Regions from separate parts of the Homo sapiens genome. Here region 2 is linked to region 1. Evidence: promoter capture Hi-C in human tissues and cell types (Jung and others, 2019). All regions are on one chromosome and are shown on one strand. Each heading gives the region's core, a stretch centred on a gene start or on the middle of the fragment in contact. The rest is flanking DNA. Distances are from core to core; before and after follow the strand shown.

Evidence for each region. The method cuts DNA at HindIII sites, captures the fragments that hold promoters and counts their contacts. A contact is called where the count stands out against the background at its distance.
Region 2: a fragment that was not itself captured here is called in contact with the fragment with the promoter of LGALS14 in region 1 in 1 of the 25 tissues and cell types used here (adrenal gland).

Annotation. Positions count from the first base shown.
Region 1 is chr19:39,702,848-39,705,871 of GRCh38, reverse strand. It overlaps LGALS14 (galectin 14), which reads right to left and starts at 1,391. Exons shown (of 4, transcript NM_020129.3): 1 at 1,329-1,391. The coding sequence starts at 1,343. RefSeq lists enhancers at 1,245-1,334, 1,355-1,484. The HindIII fragment of the contact is 10,211 bases long and covers 1-3,024 here.
Region 2 is chr19:39,663,319-39,666,342 of GRCh38, reverse strand. No RefSeq gene overlaps it. Among named protein-coding and RNA genes, the nearest start is that of LGALS16, 8.9 kb to the right of the region's middle. The HindIII fragment of the contact is 4,209 bases long and covers 1-3,024 here.

The DNA.
Region 1 (3,024 bases), core at 142-2,641:
AGTGGTTGATGATTTTTCTGTATTTTTGAGATAGGGTCTTGCTCTGTCACCCAGGCTGATATGCAGTGGTGCAATCACAGCTCACTGAAACATCGAACTCCTGGACTGCAGTGATCCTCACACATCTGCCCCCTCTTGTGTAGCTGGGGTGAAAGGTGTCTGCCACTCTGCCAGTCAGATATTTAAAGATTTTTAAAGAAAGCATATCACTATGATGCCTAGACCGGTCTCAAATTTCTGGCCTCAAGTTACCCTCCCATCTTTGCCTCCCAAATTGGTGGGATTATAGTCATGAACCAGTGAACCCAGCTGCTTTGTTGAGTAATGTCCACAGTAAGCACTGTCTGAATTCAGACAGCTTGTTCTTTCATGAGTGGAGGAACAAGTTTAGTCTCAGTTCAGACAGAGCTTACAGTGGATATTTTGTTTGATTCCGTCTCTTTAACCACGGCCTCTAATATTCTTCCCTGGCAAATCAGTATCTTCACACTCGCCTGTTCCACAATGGGAAGAACAGGCTGGGCTAGCGACAGGGAAGCTGAGCCTGGGAGGCAAAAGCCAGTGATCACTCTGTGCAGTCCCCACCTGAGGAACCATCTCTCCCATAATCTGCGTTCCTTTTCCTCACTCTTACTGGGAAGAGATATCTACTGATGATATATTTCGCTCTCATAAGTGATCTGAAACGAGTCCTTGGTAACTCACAATCCCCAAGATCCCCACCAGTTAAGCCACTTGGGATCCACATTGCCACACATGAAAAGACACACAGGTGCTTCATCAGAGGTGCTGCTGTGTGGGGAGGAACCTTCACATGCACAGAAGGCCACGTGCATGTTTTCCCTTCAATACCCAGTCACATCCCAGCACACACACCCATAGTCACACAGAGCCATGCCACTCACTGAGTTACACACACCTGCTCACTGTGCACATAAAGATGACCATGCACTGGTCTGGCTGTGCCCACACACACTCACATCACAGACAGGAAGACAAAGCACACTCACCCCCTTACACTCACTCACACACTTGCCGGTCCTGGTGGGTCATCCACCTCCCACCTAAAGTCACTTAATCTCAGCAGAGTTCACTCTCATCAGACACCACCACACCCTCACAGAGGGTTACACTGGTCCAGGGTCCACAGCCTACACCCACAATCATCTCAGATACCACAGCCTCAGGGTTTCTCTTCTACACACCCACAACTCTCGGTAATGCATTCACAGTAGGAATGCTCATATTTTCAACTCAGAAAACCTCCCCTGTTTCTTTCTTGGTTTATGTGACTTGAGATTATTGAAGGCTGTGACTTTTCAACTCACGGGTAGTGATGACATTGTTCTCTCCTTCTGGGCAGCTCTTCGGAATTGTGTCCAGTCTTCTGTGTGAATCTCTGAGTGGGATCATTTAAATGCTGCAACTCAGAGATGCCCTTTGGCTTCATGCCAGATTCCAAGCCCCTCCCAGCAAGCTTTCCGTGCAGCAGGAGAAAGACTCAGGTGTCAGAAAGAAACTCTGTCACAACCATAGATGTTTGCAGGTCTGTGTCTGTAATGCAGCAGAAATGACAGTGGGGGAGGTACCAGGCTGTGGATTGGGTTACCAGGGAAATGCATAGATAAGGATGATGGAGTGAGGGGTAGGGATTGTAAAGCCCAGCCTTTGTGCCTCTCAAGCTTTTTCTCCAGTATGCAGAATCTAGCCAGAAGGTGTACATTTCCTCAATTTGTACAATGACTAAAAATAAAAAATTGGGAATTTTGGAAAAAGACGTTAGACCTAGAAGGTAATTCTTCTCTTTGCCTTTAAAGGTTCTGGGAGGGCCTTTAAGGGTCAGATCCTTTTGACCTTGATCCTCAGGAGGATCTGGGAAGAGAAGTAGAGATAGTTCTTGCATGAACCTGCCTCACACTAGGCCCCTTGGATCTGCCAGGTGAGGGTCACTCTCATCTGTCTGTCACATACCTGGGCTCTAGCTGCATTCTCTGCTTTGTCTTGGAGTCCATGTAAAACAAAGTTTCAGAGATATTGTTTCTCCTGCAGATTCTGGGAGAAAGATGAGATTTTTTTTCTTTTTTCTTTTTTTTTACTTTTATTATAGGTTCAGGGGTACATATGCAGATAAAGTCATGTCATGAGGTTTGTGGTACATATGATTTCTTCACCTGGGTACTAAGCGTAGTACCCAATAGTTATTTTCTCTGCTCCTATCTCACCTTTCACCCTCCAACCTCAAGTAGGCTTCTGTGTGTGTTGTTCCCCTATTGGTGTCCATGAGTCTCATCATTTAGTTCACAATTATAAGTGAGAACATGCAGTATTTGGTTTTCTGTTCCTGCATTAGTTTGCTAAAAATAATGGCCTCCAGCTCCATCCATGTTCCTGCAAAAGACATGAACTCATTCTTTTTTAGGGCTTCATAGTATTCCATTGTGTATATGTATCACATTATCTGTATCCAATCTGTCCTTGATGGCATTTGGGTTCATTCTGTGTCTTTGCTATTGTGCACAGTGTTGCAATGAACATTCATATGCATATGTCTTTAAGGCAGAATAATTTCTATTCTTCTGTGTATACAGTAGTGTATACACCATTCCCAGTAATGGGATTGCGGGGTTTAATGGTAGTTCTGTTATAAGCTCTTTGAGGAATCACCACACTGCTTTCCACAATGGGTGAGCTAATTTACACCACCGCCAATAATCTGTAAGTGCTCCTTTTTCTCCACACCCTTGCCAGCATCTGTCCTTTTTTGACTTTTTAAGAAGAGCCATTCTGACTGGTGTGAGATGGTATCTCATTGTAGTTTTGATTTGCATTTCTCTAATGTTCAGTGATATTGAGCTTTTATTATATACTTGTTGGCCACCTGTATGTGTACTTTTGAGAAGCGTCCCCTGTCTCTACTAAAAATACAAAATATTAGCCGGGCCGGTGGCGGGCGCCTATAGTCCCAGCTACTCAGGAGGCTGAGGCAGGAGAATGGCATGAATGCGGGAGGGAGAGCTTGCAGTG
Region 2 (3,024 bases), core at 248-2,747, 40 kb after region 1:
CCATCACAGGCCCAGAGGCCTACAAGGAAAAAATGGTTTTGTGGGCCGGGCCCAGGATCACTGTGCTGTGTGTAGCCTAGGGCCTTGGTGCTCTGTGTTTCAGCCACTCCAGCCATGGCTGAAAGGGGCCAACATAGAACTCAGGCCATGGCTTTGAGAGTGCAAGCACCAAGCCTTGGCAGCTTCCACCTGGTGTTGAGCCTGCAACTGCACAGAAGTCAAGAATTGAGATTTGGAAACCTCCACCTAGATTTCAGAGGATGTATGAAAACGCCTGGATGTCCAAGCAGAAGTTTGCTACAGGGGTGGGGCTCTCATGGAGAACCTCTGCTAGGGCCATGTGGAAGGGAAATGTGGAAGGATCAGAGCCCCTACACAGAGTCCCTACTGGAGCACTTCCTAGTGGAGCTGTGAGAAGAGGGACACTGTCCTCCAGACCCCAGATACCTTGCACCATGAGCCTGGAAAAGCTTCAGACACTCAACATCAGCCCATGAAAACAGCCAGGAGGTGGGCTATACCCTGCAAAGCTACAGGGGCAGAACTACACAAGGCCATGGGAGTCCACCTCTTGCATCAGCATGACCTTGATGTGAAACATGGAGTCAAAGGAGATCATTTTGGGGCTTTAAAATTTGACTACCTGGCTGGATTTAGGACTTGCATGGGGCCTGTAACCCCTTTGTTTTGGCCAATTTCTCCCATTTGGAACAGCTGTATTTACTCAATTACCTGTACCCCCATTGTATCTAGGAAGTAACTAGCTTGCTTTGGATTTTACAGGCTCATAGGCAGAAGAGACTTGCCTTTTATCAGATGAGACTTTGGACAGCAGACATTTGGGTTAATGCTGAAATGAGTTAAGACTTTGGGGGACTGTTGGGAAGGCATGATAGGTTTTGAAATGTGAGGACATGAGATTTGGAGGGGCCAGGAGCAGATTAATATGGTTTGGCTATGTACCTACCCACATCTCAGCTTCAATTGTATCTCTCAGAATTCCCATGTGTTAAGGGAGGGACCCAGGGGGAGGTAGTTGAATCCCTTGGGCTGGTCTTTCCCATGCTATTCTTGTTATAGTGAATAAGTCTCACAGGATCTGATGGGTTTATCAGGGGTTTCGTCTTTTGCTTCCTTCTCATATTCTCTTGCCACTGCCATGTAAGAAGTGCCTTTCATCCACTGCTATGACTCTGAGGCCTCCTTGGCCATGTGGAACCATAAATCCATTAAGCCTCTTTTTCTTCCCAGTCTCAGTTATGTCTTTATCAGCAGCGTGAATGTCGACTAATACATTTGGTATTGTCAAACTTCTTAATATTTGTGGAGCGAATAGATATGTAGTATCTTGTGCATTTTCTTGATTACTAATGAGGATGAGAAAATTTTTATGTTTTGGGGGCATTCTCTTTTGTGAAATCCCTATTAATGTCTTTTCCCAATTTTCTTTTGGGATGCTATTTTTAAAATTAATTCATAGGAACTCCTTATACTTTGTTGATTTGATATTAATCTTTCATAGGTTTTAGGTACTGCAAATATCTTCTTCTAGTTTATAGTTTATCTTTTCACTTTTTTACTTTTATTTTTTAATTTTTACTTTTTTTTTGAGACAGAGTCTCACTCTGCCATTCAGGCTGGAGTGCAGTGGCTCACTGTAACCTCCACCTCCCGGGTTCAGAAGATTCTCGTGCATCAGCTTCCCAAGTAGCTGGGATTGCTAGTGTCTGCCACCAATGCCTGGCTAATTTCTTATATTTTCAGTGGAGACAGGGTTTCACCATGTTGGCCAGCCTGGTGTCAAACTCCTGACCTCAGGTGATCTACTGTTGGGATTACAGGCTTGAGACACCATGCCCAGCTTATCTTTTCACTTTTTGATGTAAAAAGTTCTCAATTTTGTGATAGTCAAAACATCTAATCTTTTTTAATGGTTAAATGGCTTTTTGTGTCTCATTCACTTACATTTTCTACTAAAAGTTTTAAAGTTTTGTTTCTGACACATAAGTCTTTGGTCCATCTGGAATTTAATGTTTGTATATAGAGCGAAGAAGGAATATAATTTCATTTTGTTTCCTATATCAGTAACCATTATTTTTCTTTCCTATGTATTGAAAAGTCCTTTCTTTCTTTGCTGATCTGCCATGTCACCTGCATCACATATCAAATATTAAATTTGTGGAGATTTGTTTGGGAGCTCTCTATTCTGTTTCATTGGTCAGTTTATCAATGAAGACCACACTATCTTAATTGCTGTAGCTTTATAAAACTTCTGATATTTGGCAGGAGAAATCTTTCCTTTTCTTTAATAATGTCTTTGACATTCTTGGCCCCTTCCCTTTTCCACATATATATGTATGTATATGTATGTATATATATACATACATATATATGTGTATATATACATACATATATATGTGTATATATACATACATATATATGTGTATATATACATACATATATATGTGTATATATACATACATATATATGTATGTATGTGTGTGTGTGTGTGTATGTGTATATATATATATATATATATATATATATATATATAGAGAGAGAGAGAGAGAGAGAGAGAGAGAGAGAGAGAGAGAGAGTCTCACTTTGTTTCCCAGGCTAGAGTACAGTGGTGCAATTGTAGCTCACTGCAGACTTGAACTCTTGGGCTCAAGAGCTCCTCCTACCTCAGCCGCCCAAGTAACTAGGACTCTAAGGCATGCACCACCACATCCAGCTGATTTTTTAAAAAATTATTATTTTTTGTAACGATGGGGATCTTGCTATGCTGCCTAGGCTGGTCTCAAACTTTTGACCTCAAGCAATCCTCCCACCTCAGGCTCCCAAAGTGCTGGGATTACAAGTGTGAGCCACCACACATGGCTCCAATTTCCATATTTTAAGACCATATTTTAAAAGCTGCTCAAGCCTGCTTTTTTCTCTTGATGCTACTTGCAAATCCCTTACTTAGCTGTGGAAATACTGTTAGTGAAGAAAATCTAAAGAGTCGAAAAATGAAATATTCTT